Regions from separate parts of the Homo sapiens genome. Here region 1 is linked to region 2. The links are contacts of gene promoters, found by promoter capture Hi-C in blood cells and fetal thymus (Javierre and others, 2016). All regions are on one chromosome and are shown on one strand. Each heading gives the region's core, a stretch centred on a gene start or on the middle of the fragment in contact. The rest is flanking DNA. Distances are from core to core; before and after follow the strand shown. Region 1 holds the start of EPAS1 (endothelial PAS domain protein 1). Region 2 holds the start of PPM1B (protein phosphatase, Mg2+/Mn2+ dependent 1B).

What was found. Contacts are between HindIII fragments. The CHiCAGO score rates a contact against its expected background, and 5 or more counts as called.
Region 1: a contact is called between the fragment with the promoter of EPAS1 here and the fragment with the promoter of PPM1B in region 2, in 1 of 17 cell types (neutrophils). The highest score is 7.7, in neutrophils.

What each region holds. Positions count from the first base shown.
Region 1 is chr2:46,293,645-46,300,541 of GRCh38, forward strand. It overlaps EPAS1 (endothelial PAS domain protein 1), which reads left to right and starts at 3,763. Exons shown (of 16, transcript NM_001430.5): 1 at 3,763-4,293. The coding sequence starts at 4,268. RefSeq lists silencers at 3,217-3,796, 4,027-4,356. The HindIII fragment of the contact is 15,577 bases long and covers 1-6,897 here.
Region 2 is chr2:44,164,432-44,171,032 of GRCh38, forward strand. It overlaps PPM1B (protein phosphatase, Mg2+/Mn2+ dependent 1B), which reads left to right and starts at 4,444. Exons shown (of 6, transcript NM_002706.6): 1 at 4,444-4,843. It overlaps PPM1B-DT (PPM1B divergent transcript), which reads right to left and starts at 4,361. Exons shown (of 2, transcript XR_940034.3): 1 at 2,867-4,361. It also overlaps the pseudogene PDSS1P2. RefSeq lists silencers at 4,145-4,474, 4,795-5,004. The HindIII fragment of the contact is 4,313 bases long and covers 2,741-6,601 here.

The sequences.
Region 1 (6,897 bases), core at 2,513-5,012, 2.1 Mb after region 2:
GTTTGGATGGAGTAACATGCAAGTGTGAGGGAAGGAGTGACTCAGGCAAGGCTTTTCATAGAGAAAGAGTCTCTGCCAGCTTGTCCTCTCTCCCATCTCTGCTCCTTACCTCCCCTGCTCTCTCCACCCCGAAACCAACTAAATAGCCAGACAAGGGTCAGATGGGTATTACGTGAGATAAGGCATGTGGCAGGACAGAGGCCAGTGTACTTGCATGACTCTTAAAGGCCTCTTTTGCCTCACCCTGGTCCCAACTCCAATATGTGACAATGCATTGGAAGTTGTAAGGTACTAATGAGATAGCCCATCCTTCCAAGAGCTGTTCCTGTTAGATCCCATCCATTCCAACCTAATTTCCAACTGCATCCTGGAACATACTGTTACTTCGATGGGAGTACTGAGGCCATCTTTCTTCCACCAGCCCACTGCATCCCAGGTGCCTGCTCTCTGCCAGGTTTGTAAGTTCACACTTTATCTCTATCCCATCCTCCTGAGGGCACACCCTACAAAGAAAAGAGGAAGCAAGAGAATCAGATTTGTCCCTTGTCAAAACAAATAGGTGTTTCACTGGTGCCACAGCTTTTGTTCCCAAACCATCCAATACAGGGTTGGGGGGCAGGTAGGGAGATTTGCTGGGAGGTGGGCAGTTTGCTCCTATTTTAAGCAGCTTGGGAGCTTTGCCTACCGGTGTCCTCTGCTGCCCTCTGTGGCCACAACATCAGTGTCTCTAAAGACACCCCTCTGAATCCGGGGACCCAGCTCCCCATCCCCCACTCACTGCCCCAGCATCACCTTTCAAAGTTTTTCTCCTCTAGTTCTCCACAGGCTCTAAAAAGTAAAATTGGATGCACCCTAGCCACAGCCTGCATCTGGTTTACACTCTCAGCTCCTTCCTGCAAAGGTTATTGAGCTGAGTCCTGGAAGAAATCTCAGGCCACCCGGCTCTGCTCTAAGCAAGGCTGGGTGCAACCCTTTTGAGAGTTATTATAATGAGTTTTTGGTGTATCTCAGACACTGCCAAAATCCCGGACTTGGCAAGGTGCGGTGGCTTATGCGTATAATCCCAGCACTCTGGGAAGCCCAGGTGGGTGGATCACATGAGGCCAGGAGTTCCAGACCAGCCTGGCCAACATGGCAAAACTCCATCTCTACTAAAAATACAAAAATTAGCCGGGCATGGTGGTGCACATCTGTAGTCCTAGCTACTTGGGAGGCTGAGGCAGGGGAATAGCTTGAACCCGGGACGTGGAGGTTGCAGTGCGCCAAGATCGTGCCACTCCGCTCCAACCTGCGCAACAGAGTGAGATTGTCTAAAGAAAAAAAAAAAATCCCAGACTCAATGCCAGCTGTTTGTGTTAGCCTGGGGATCCTTCACTTATAGGGTGCAGTCTGGCCAAGAGGAAGGAGCTATATAACATGGTTGATGGAATTTCTAACATTTAAGCTCAGGGGTACATGTGCAGGATGTGCAGGTTTGTTACATAGGTAAATGTGTACCATGGTGGTCCACTGCACAGATCATCCCATCACCTAGGTATTAAGCCCAGCATCCGTTAGCTATTGTTCCTGATGCTCTCCCTCCTCCCACCCCTCACCCTCTGACACGCCCCAGTCTGTGCTGTTCCTCCCATGTGTCCATGTCTTCTTAGGTTGATGTGGTCTTGAGTGACCCCTCCTTGCCTTTCCTCTTTAAAAACAAGATCTAAAAGGCTATGTTCTCTATGGGTTGGAGGTGTTGCCTCGATCTGTCAAGCACAGTCCAGGACTCAGAGGCTGTTGTGGTGAACTACTGTAGGCACCTGGAAGCCACCAAGGTGCCCTTTTCCCGCACTCTAGTCCCAAGTGAGGGAAATAAGCCTATGGTTAAGGGAGAACTATCTACCAATTTGAACTCATTAAAATACATAAATGTGTCCACTAGAAATGGCTGGCTGGAGAAGCCCAGTACCAAATCACCCCGTTCCTGAAACCCACCAGCCCCATGAAATAGTTCGCTAGAGAGAGATTTGCAATCTTTGAATTCGTTGACTATCAACCTGTATAGGTGCTCCGTGCCCCGAGATCTGAGAAAATGACAAAATACGTCTACTTCCCGGCCGGGCACAGTGACTCACGCCTGTAATCCCAATACTTTGAGAGGCCAAGTTGGGCAGATCACTTGAGGTCAGGAGTTTGAGACCAGCCTGGCCAACATGGTAAAACTCCCGTCTCTACTAAAAATACAAAAATTAGCTGAGGGTGGTGGTGGGCGCCTTTAATTCCAGTTACTCCGGAGGCTGAGCCACAAGAATCGCGGGAAGCGGAGGTTGCAGTGAGTCGAGATGGGGCCACAGCACTCCAGCCTGGGCGACAGAGTGGGACTCAGTCTCAAAAAAAAAAAAAAAGTATTTCCCAATTCTTCGTCAGTTTTTGCCCTCTCCCCACTTCGCCTTCTCCAGGCTCCTGAAAAGTATCTCCCCCAACCCTTTCTGTGTACACGGGGAAAACACGTGTTCATTTTTATTATGGCGCTGAAACCTACCCTTCTCTTCAAATCGCTTCTGTAGATCGTTCTAGTATAAAATGTGGCAAGAGGCTAAAGGGAGAGATATAGACCAGTTCTTTGGCCCTCGCTTTCCAACTTCAAGTTACACCTGTGAAACTCATGGGTCCTTCCACAGCCTTCAAAAACTAAGGGCGTCCCCTGTCCTCTCCCCAGATGTCCCTTCCCCATCGCCGGTAGCGAGTGGGAGACAGCTCAGCGCGGGGCAGGGGAGCACTGGGCCCGGAGATGGAAGGCAGCGTCAAAAGCGCCGCTGGAAAATCCCTGAGCGCTAACCGTTGCCTGTGTGAGCCCTTAAATCTACAAATTTCCAACACCTGTAGCCTTTGGGTTTCCCAGGACTTCCATCGACCCTGGCGGCAGAGAGGGCAGGCCTGAGATGCAGTGACTTGAGGGCACATGGCCAACTCTTGTCACTCCAAGATCACACTGGGGAACCAGACTGACTTCTCCAATTCTGAACTCGCCCCGGCCTCGGGCGGCTCAAAGGGCCTCCTCTGCCGCATCCCCGCCAAAACCAAACCGCCTGGCACAAGCCGGTAAGCAACCACCCTGCTGGGAGAGGGAAGGAAGAGTAGGCGCAGCCCTAGATCAATTTCCTTGCACTGCTTCTCCCAGACGGTCAAGTCAGCTGCGTCCCACCGAAAAGGGCGCATCGCCCACGCCCGAAACGCAGCCGCTGGGGGCCGAGAAATTATCCCCACCTGGCCCGAGGGCCAGGGACGCAGGAGCGCAGCAGCGTGGAGGGGCTCCGCGCTGGCCCGGCGCTGCCCGCGGTCCTGCCCTCGTTCCAAGGGCACGGCGCCGGTACGAGGACACCGACGCTGTGGCGCAACTGCCGTCCCCCGCAGCAATCCCGGAGCCCGGCTCCCGGCCGCCCCTCGGCCCTGCGCAGGCTGCCTCTCCCCGACGCGGAGTCCCACCCCGCTACCCGCCGCCCAGACGACCTCATAAACAAGTCCTCGAAGTGCGGAGGCAGGAGGCGGGGCGCAGCGCGGGGGCAGGAGGCGGGCCAGGGTCAGGGCAGAGGCTGCGGCCGCGCGTCCCCATTGGCCGGGACGCAGTGAGCCGCCCGGAGCTCGGCGCGGGCGGGGCCTGCCGGCGCGTGCCCGCCCACACACCCGCGCCGGTGCCCGCCCCCCGCCCTCCGCGCCCGCCCCGTGCCCGCCCCAAGCCGGCCGACGGAGTTTTTAAAGTGGGCTGCCGGCCGCGGGAGCTTTACACTCGCGAGCGGACCGCCACACGGGTCCGGTGCCCGCTGCGCTTCCGCCCCAGCGCTCCTGAGGCGGCCGTACAATCCTCGGCAGTGTCCTGAGACTGTATGGTCAGCTCAGCCCGGCCTCCGACTCCTTCCGACTCCCAGCATTCGAGCCACTTTTTTTTTTCTTTGAAAACTCAGAAAAGTGACTCCTTTTCCAGGGAAAAAGGAACTTGGGTTCCCTTCTCTCCGTCCTCTTTTCGGGTCTGACAGCCTCCACCCACTCCTTCCCCGGACCCCGCCTCCGCGCGCAGGTTCCTCCCAGTCACCTTTCTCCACCCCCGCCCCCGCACCTAGCCCGCCGCGCGCCACCTTCCACCTGACTGCGCGGGGCGCTCGGGACCTGCGCGCACCTCGGACCTTCACCACCCGCCCGGGCCGCGGGGAGCGGACGAGGGCCACAGCCCCCCACCCGCCAGGGAGCCCAGGTGCTCGGCGTCTGAACGTCTCAAAGGGCCACAGCGACAATGACAGCTGACAAGGAGAAGAAAAGGTAAGCGGGCGTCCGGGCCGATCAGGGGGCCGGTCCGAGGCCAGGGCCGGGCTGCGCGGGGCAGGCGCGACCGAGAGTGGTTGGGAGAAGAGTGCTGAGAGGTCTTCGGAGCTCGAGGCTCGGTTTGGAGGGCTGTGAGGGGGAGAGCATGTGCCCGGTTTGGGGGCGCGGATCAGCAGCTTTGCAGTGGAGACTTCTGCGGCTCGGAGGAGTCGGGGATTTGCGCGCACGGCGAGGCCAGGAGGCCGAGGGAGATGGCCTGGAGGTCGGAGGTGCTTCCGCGGTGCCTTTGAAAATCTCCCAGCCGCCCCGCAGCAGATTACCGTGGCCACCGGCGCTTGGAAATGTTTGTGGGTGCATGTCCTCGACTTTCTCTGGTCTCTCATTTTGGGGCAGCATCCACGTCTCTATTTTTCTCTGGATTCGCGGAGTCCTTCCAAATGCGCTCCTGTGCCCGCGCCGCGGCCCAAGTGGGCAAAGGGGGGCGGGAGGCGGAGAGCGGCTCAGGGACACGATCCTACCGAGGAGCCAGGACCCTTCAGAGCGCCCCGCTGCCGGGCTCCAGACCCCACCGAAGGTTGGAGAACCCACTTCCTCGTGCCGCACCTTGACTCTGGGGAGAGTAGGTAGTGAGTGACCTGGATTGCCCTGCGGGGGCAGATGGTTCGGTGTGTAGGAAGCGGACGGCAACACTGGATGTCCCTGGCAGGTCCGGGTGTCTGTCTCCGAAGAGGACAGAGAAGGGCAGCCACGATCTGCCCGCCTGCCCTCGCGAGCCTCTCGGCACTGGGTGAGAGGCAACTCTGGCCATTTCTTGCTGCCCTCTCGCCCTCTCCCGGCCGCTCCCAGTCCAGCCGGGCCCGGCGCTACCCGAGCGAGGGTTCGAGCCCTCTGCGCGGCCGCGCAGAAGCAGGCAGGGCCTCAACTTCTGCAAATGTGTGCGGCTCGCCGCCTGTCCCCTTTCTCCTCCTGTCTCCACCCGTGCGGCCCCAGTGGCCTGGAGCTTCCAGCCCCGCGCTTGGCCGCGGCTTGGCGAGGCTATGCTGCGGGAAGCTGGAATCCAACGCGCGGCCGGCTGAACCGCCTGAGCCGCGGGAAACCAGCGGCGGAGCGGCGGTATAGAGGTGCGAGGATGAGGAGGACCGACTCGCTAAGGGAGGGAGGTGACTGGCCGGGAGGGCTCACTGCCGAGGTTGATTTGCTCTTGTTCCAACTTCCACTACGGGACTGGAGCCAGAAACCGTGTATCCTCCGGTCGAAAGCAGCGGTTCCCACCTCGGGGCACCGATAAGGATTTGATAAACGGGAGCGAATCGCGCCTGTCCTGGCTCGGCGCCCGGGCCCTTCACTGCGGGATCGCTAGGGGAGGGGATTGGGCCCTGCTCCCCTTTCCTGGCCGTAGTCCCCCCTTTCTCGTCACCGTCGCGCCCTCAGACCCAAGACAAGTGAGGGAGCCCTGAGACTGCAGCCGGCACATTCCCAGGGCCCTCGGAGCAGTCCTGGGGTTCCATGTCTTTTGAAGGCAGCAGAGCAAGGAAAAGACTCTTAAGATTCCAGTGCGTTTTGTAAAAACCAATCATAATGCTAATAATGACTGAACCATCGAAAAGCAAAGTTATAGACAGCGCCTGCAGACGCTTTCGGGTCCGGAGCCGGGGAGGGAACTTGTGTATTTTACAACTGCGATGCCTATCGGGAATGTGGCAATCGCCGAGGTGGGGCCTGACAGTAATCTTGACAAATGTGTGAAGTGTCAGCTCCTCCTGCGCTCCTTAGCGCCGGGTTTTGTGCAGTTTTGTACCGTATATACCGAGAAACTTGGGAGCAGGGGAAAAATGATTTCGACACACCCAGCTACAGTACCTGGTTCGTTAGCGGACTGTTGGAAAGAGAGAAGAAGCGGGAATGGGAGCGGGAAGAACGTTGCGTAATTAGACTCCCAATTATTGGCGAGAGCGGCCGCTTTAAGAACCACTGTGGGGACTGCCTGCGAAACGCCTTGGAGGCCGCTGTGTGAGCTGCGGCTCCGGGCTGGTGGCCACGCGAGGGTGTCCGCCCTCTTCGACCTGCCTGGATTTTTGTGCTGCAGAATGGCAGGGCAAACAGCGTGTCCTTCACCATCTAGAGCCCCTTAAGGGGTTGTCCAATTCCTATTGGGCTAATCAGTTTGAGACTCATTTACTTTTCGTGCCTGGGTCTGTTTGCTGGCTGCAGGCTTCTTTAGGGACCAAGATGTAATTAAAATATGTGAACCAATACATTGAAAGTTGGTGTTGTCATGTAAGTGACTGCTGTAGCTTTTCTGAGTGCCTCACAAGGGCGATGTGACAGTGAGGGGGCTCTCTGCTGATGATTCTGCCCACTAGTTCTTACATTTTGTGTTTCTTTGGTTTAGCAGAGCAGTTTCTTCCCCCAAATGCAATATGGGCAGAACATTTGGAATATTCGTTCTAACAATGGCCCGTCAAGAAGTGGGCAGATGATTTTGTCCCAGAATGTTCACACGTCGATAAATATGTTAATGTTTAATAATAAAGAGTTTGCTTTCTAAATGTTAGTTGGCTGGGTGTCCTTGATAGTACCAGTTTTGGTGGTAGTGGGCAT
Region 2 (6,601 bases), core at 3,194-5,693:
CAACCTCCGACTCCCAGGTTCAGGTGATTCTCCCGCCTCAGCCTCCCGAGTAGCTGGGACTACAGGCACGTGCCTCCACACCTGGCTAATTTTTGTATTTAGTAGAGACGGGGTTTCACTAGGTTGGCCAGGCTGGTCTCAAACTCCTGACCTCGTGATCCACCCGCCTCAGCCTCCCAAAGTGCTGGGATTACAGGCATGAGCCACCACGCCCAGCCTATGCTTCTTTATTAATGCATGAAATAACAAGATCTAGTGATGAGTATAATAATTATAATAATTTCAAAAGAGTGGTGAGTATAAATGACATCTAAAGAGATTGTGATGCTTGGTAAAGACTGGGAATCTCTGCTCTAAGCAACTTGTGACCTCGCAGTTCCCTGATTGTTTGGGCTCCCTTGCAGCTAGGGGTGATCATGTGATTTCCTCACCCAACTTTTTCTACATTACATTTAATATTGTTTTTATTTAAAACTATATATTGGGGAATGATTTGCATTACTAAGAGACTCTAAAACTCTTCATGTGGCTCTGGAGAAAGATGTTACGATTCCCATTTTGCAGAACAAACCAAGGCTCAGATAGCTTAGTTACTAGCTCAAGTCACACAGCTAGTTCGTAGCAGAGCACATTATGATGGTACTCAGGGTTTATGACACATTATGTTTATGATGGTAAACAGCAGTTTTCAAAGTTGTGACTCTTGTTGGGCTTTCTTTAATGGTTTAGTATTTTAAGCAAATAAAGCATACAACAAAGTTAACCTTCAAATCTGTTCTGGGGTGTCTCCATACTTTTTTTTTTTTTGCTCTTGGTGATTGAAAGTATGAATGATATGGAATTATCAGCCCACCTAAATGACTGAGCTTTGTATTTGTTTTTGGGTCAACCAAGGGAAGGTGAGAAGGAAGTCAAGCAAGCCAAGAAACTGTTCTCATGCCTTTCTGTAGTTGCTTGTATTCACAGGACAAGGGTCCCTAAATGTCTTCAGTTTTTTATCCTTAGCATGGTTCCCATTTTAGAAGCTGAGGTCTCAGACTCCCTTCTGCTTACATAAGGGGTGTCAGGCAATGGAGTGTGATTAAAGAAAATTTAATTTTTTTATAAGTCACTTCAATAATACTTCCTGCGGACTGTATGATCTCACGCTGATAATAAAGGGGACAGTGGAAATGTGAGATATACATATGTTCTCCCAACATGCAAAAGTGAGGAAATTAATTTACTTTACATCTGCCTCCATTATCCTGTGCCAGAGGGTCTCAAACATTGATGCGCATAAAAATCATCTGCAGGTCAGGTGCGGTGGCTCACGCCTGTAATCCCAGCACTTTGGGAGGCTGAGGCGGGAGGATCACTTGAGGTCAGGAGTTTGTGACCAGCCTGACCAACATGGTGAAACCCCGTCTCTACTAAAAATACAAAAATTAGCCAGGCGTGGTGGTGGGTGCCTGCAATCCCAGCTACTCGGGAGGCTGAGGCAGGAGAATCACTTGAACCTGGGAGGCGGAGGTTGCACTGAACCGAGATTGCACTACTGCACTCCAGCCTGGGCGTCAGAGTGAGACTCCGTCTCAAAAAAAAAAAAAAAAAAATCATCTGGGGAGCTATTTTAAAATTCACCTTTCTGAGCCTTGTCCCCAGAGTCCCTGATTTGTAGGCATGAGTGGACCTGGGAATCTCTATCCCAGAATCCCAGATGATTCGGATGCTGGTGGTCTATTCACCATGCTGTAAGAAACACCATTCTCACACAAACTTGATGAGTAGGTTTTAAAAATCTGAATTGCAGAGGCGGAGCCGCCACCCTGCCGCGACTTTCAGTCTCCGACCATGGCCTCACGCTGGTGGCGGTGTGCCCGGCTCCCCCGGCCTTGCAGGGCCTCCAGGGCCGCGCGCCGCTGCCGGCGCCCGCGCTCAGGCTCATAGGCGGAAGGGATTCGGCTTGTCTCAGATACCCTATTTTAGTCTTGTGAAGCGCTTAACATCTGCCTGTCCAAATGTATACAGTATATCACGGTTTTATCACACAACCCCGGACAGTAAAACACACAGTGGTGAGAAATATACAGATCACCGATCCTTTCAAATTCGGTTGCAGAGACTTGAAAGGTCTGTATGAGGACATTAGAAAGGAACTGCTCATATCAACAACAGAACTTCAGGAAATGTCTGAGTACTACTTTGATGGAAAAGGAAAAGCCTTTCGACCAATTATTGGGGTGCTAATGGCCCGAGCATGTAATATCCATCATAACAACTCCCGATCCGATGTCCAATTTTCACAAGCTGATTGCTGAGAAGGTTCTAGGCGGCGTCTGTTAAAAAGCATTGCTGTCTGTTAATTTGACATGTGCAAGCCAGCCACCGCGCCATAGCCTTAATTGCAGAAATGATCCACACTGCTAGTCTGGTTCACGATGACGTTATTGACGATACAAGTTCTCGAAGAGGAAAACACACAGTTAATAAGATCTGGGGTGAAAAGAAGATACGGTTTTTTGGTTTTTTAAAATCTCTCTTACCGAATCACATGCTTTTTGGACCGCGTTTGCTTTTTCAGATTTGTCTTATTAAAAAGTAAAATATGCTTGCTCAAAAAACAAAAAAACCCGAATTGCAATTAAGTCTTTGTTTCTGCCGTCCTTATGACGGCCTGGACAATTGTCCTATTACTAAATTTGCCCTTTTCTATAAAACATTGACAGCCCCTAACCTGAATAGCACTCTGTTGGGTCTAAGCTTAAATTGTCTGCCCAAACCATTTTACACCAAAGTAGGAAATAGGTTTAAGTTCTTTTAGGACATTCGGATTAAAAAAAAAATATATATATATATATATATCCTAAGGTAAGTATTAGAATACCTCTATTACACTTTTGTTTCTCGTTTGGAGAATTAACATGGCAGCATCGTCTAATTTGATAGCTGGAGGAGTCATGTCCACTTTCCCCATCGGCCTGTTAAACCCCTATCATTCATTCTTGACTCATCCTGTGTCTTTGTGAAGCCTTTCTTGGTAAACCTATGCACAAGGAAGACCCTTTATGTCGTCACCAGCCCTTGTGCATGTTTCAATTGTAGTACCTATCATCTTGTACTGCGATTGCCTAATTTATTTTTGTATCTCCAGTTCTACATACAGTACCTGGCAAACAGTAGGCGCTCAATAACTGCGAAATGAACAAGTCCATGTCAAGAGACTAGGCTGGGAGTTTTAATATCAATGCCGACTGAGAAACAAAATACGGAAATGTCAAGGGCTGGTATAAAAATAATCTCTAATAGCACAAAATCCTCCTGAAGGGAACACCTGTCCCACTTTCTCACGTTGCTTTCCAGGTTCTTCCGACACCCCAATTTCCCGCCCACTCTTCTCCCTCCGGGGTACAGGTCAGGCAGGTATCCCAGCTCGGCGGCTCTGATAGGTCGGCGATGATTTCATTGTTAGGGAACATCCGGGCCTTTCCCCTCCCCGCAACACCTCCCCAGAGCCCGGCCTTCCCAGTTTCCCACTCTCGCCTGCGCCCCACCCGCGGCTGAAGCAAAACAACCGCCTCTCCCCTGCCCACTTCTTGTCCTCGTCTGAGTCGTCCCTTCCCGTCTCCACGCCGAAGAGAGGCGTTTAGATCCTCCAATGAGGGCCTAGGAGGACTTTCTTAGCCAATCAGTAGCCAAGCCCCTGCAATTCCGGGTGGGACCAGGCGTCCACACCTATAGCTGGACTGCTCGTTGGTCCCTTATGGCGCTTCTTTTACGCGAGGCTTAGAGGTCAAATACAAGGGGGCACGGTCCTCACAGAACGGAAAGGATCCGTACAGACTCTCCGGGTTTGACCGTTTTCTAGGACGAACCAATCGCTTTCCAGATACTTCCCCGCCTTTTGCGCGTTCATTTGAAAAAAGCCGGTGTGACGGACTTGGAAATTGGCTCAGTGACTGACCCGCAAGAAAGCCAGTGACTGGGGGTTCGGATCACGAGTTGGACCAATAAGAAAAGACAATCGCTGGGGCCGGGGCTTTGCTAGGAGGAGCGCAGGTGGGCGTTATTTGATTGACGGAGGGCTCTACTTATGGCTGGTAGCGGGGGCTGGTCCCTGACGTTCGGGAGGTAGGACCTAGCGGAGGCGGGGCCGAATAAAGTAAATGGTAATAAAGGGTTGGGTCTCACTTAGTGGGCGGTGTTTGATGGACAGCTGACCTTGCCTATTGAAAGTAGCCACTGATGCCCAATGGGAAATTAGAAACCCAGAGGCGGGGCCGGGTGGGCGGGGTAAACGAAGTACGGAGGTGCCGAGGGAGCAGCACGGGGAGGGGGAGCGGTGATTGACAAGACTCCCAGCAAACCGGGGGCCGTGAGAGGGCGCGCGGCATCCCAGTGGGTGGCAGCTGGAGGCGGGGCACCCTGAGGGGCGGGGAAGGACTAGGGTGCGGGGAGGGGGTTGCAAAAGGAGCCGAGCGGCTTCTGCTCAATGGCGGAAAAGCCGCCGGTGCTCTGACGGCCTCGTTCCCCTAGCAGTTGCGGGGGAGTTTCCTGCCGGCGCGGCTGGAGTCTCTGATTCTCAGGGTTCGGTGGTTGGAAGATGCTCCAGAGAGACGAGGCTGCGGCGGAGGAGGTGGCGGCGGCCGAATCGGCAACGGCGCTAGGGTGGAGAGAAGGCGGCATCGGCGGCGGCGGCGGCGTGAGGGGCCGGGCGGTGTAAACAGCCCCGGAGGCGGCGGTCGAGACCCCGAGGGGGAAGCGGCGGCTGAGTCAGGGTCGCGCCTCCGTTGGAAACTTGGGCTGAGTACCGCGGCGGGCGCGAGCGAGGCGCCCTAGACATCTTCTCCCTCCCTTGCCTCAGGTAAGGCCGCCCGGCACCCCGCCGGAGGGGAAGCGGCTGACCGGCCGCGCCGCCGAGGCCCCGGGCCCTGGGCAGGTTTTCGCGGTGCTGCCGAGCCGCGGCCGGGGCCTCTGTCCTTCCGAATCCTCGCTGCTTTCCCTGCTGCCGCGGAGCCTAGGCAGGGGAACGCCGGGCCTGGCTCTCGGGTATAGGCCCCTTCCCCGGCCGCCGCCTCCGCTGGGCTGAGGTCTGGGAGAGGCGCAGGGAGAGAATGGGAGTTTGCTGGAACGCCTGGAAGCTGACTGATTCTCTCTTCCCTCCGCTTCAGTCTGCAAGCATCTCTTTCACACGAAAGCACTGGGGCTACCCCAAGCCTTGGCGCTTCTCTTCCTGGTGCATGCCCTGTTTGAAAACACTATCTTTTACCATTCGTTTCCTCATCAGCTTCTGCCCTACTCTGCGCTCCACTTCACTTCCTTGTTAAATCGTCTTTCTCTGCTGTCTATGCGTTCTACCCTCGCCTTCCCTCCTTAGTGGCTTTAAATTGTGTGTTTCTCTTTTCTTCGTACCCCGGCATCTCTTGCCTGTCTTCCCTAGCACCATCCTTTTCGGATGTCATTCCTAACAGTGAAGTTCTTAATTGAAACTGCCACTTATTGTCAGTACCCCAAATCTACCGGAGCCCCATTAAGAGTATAGACTGACTAGCCATATGTGGTAAATCAGTTTTTCATAGTTTAAGCCTAACAACCTTGAAAAAATTGTATTATTAAACGTAAAGTGTGAAAATAACACCGAAAATAATTTTTTAAATGAAGGACTCAGTGAGTGTTGGAAATAGTTATTTCTTCATTTTTTAAACTTGCATGACCTCTCATATCAGATTTAGCAGATCTGGGACGTTTGCCCATCTTATTCGGCAAAAAAAGTGCTTCTTAGGCGTTTGATAGCAGCCCAAATTCATCAATATTCAATTTCTTCTAAGAACAACTTGAAAACTTTTTTAAAAAGAGACGTTAATAACTGGGAAGTTGTTTTGATAGTCACAGTTAAAGAGCTTTTAAAATAGGCTCCACATGTTTAATGTATCAAAATAAAGTTGGCAGGCATGTTGTAAAAGGATTATTTAGGAATTTGAGTAGTCTTAGTGTTATGTAGCTATTTTAGGAAAAACATTCTTTTTCTGTTAACAAACGTTTACAACTACGGTGATGTGAGAATTACTGAGGCTTACTGTGGGATTAACACAGGAACTGTCTTTATTTGAGCTACTGCATGGATGAAGAAGTGGTAAATTGTTCAGAGTAGACAGTGTAAGTCACAGTATGTTCTAGGAGATGGAGAAACATGCCATGGACGCTGAATGTTAATAGATGTTATTTCATTTACTTTCTCTGTTGTGCAATAGCAAAGTTCCTATTGTTGGCCTACTTTTAAATGGGGCATTTCTAAGTAAATAGTGAGACAAGTTATTCTAATTATTATGATAGTCTTTTCCAAGTGTACAGGCCTTTTAAAAATATAGTTGAAGTAATGGTAATTTTTTAAGGAAATGTTTTTGTAGGTCTGCCAAATGGACAGTGTGTTGTTCTAATCGAAATTTTAAAATTAAGTATTTAGAACAGAATATTTTAGTCCACACATTTTCAGGGATAATCTTTATTTTGTGCTTCTTCTCTCAATGCCTTCTTTGTCTTTTTTTTTGTCTTAATGGTTGTTGTGTTTTCGCCTCTTCATTTGTTTTTGCTCTCATGAAGTCTTACAACAGTTTCTGCAGTG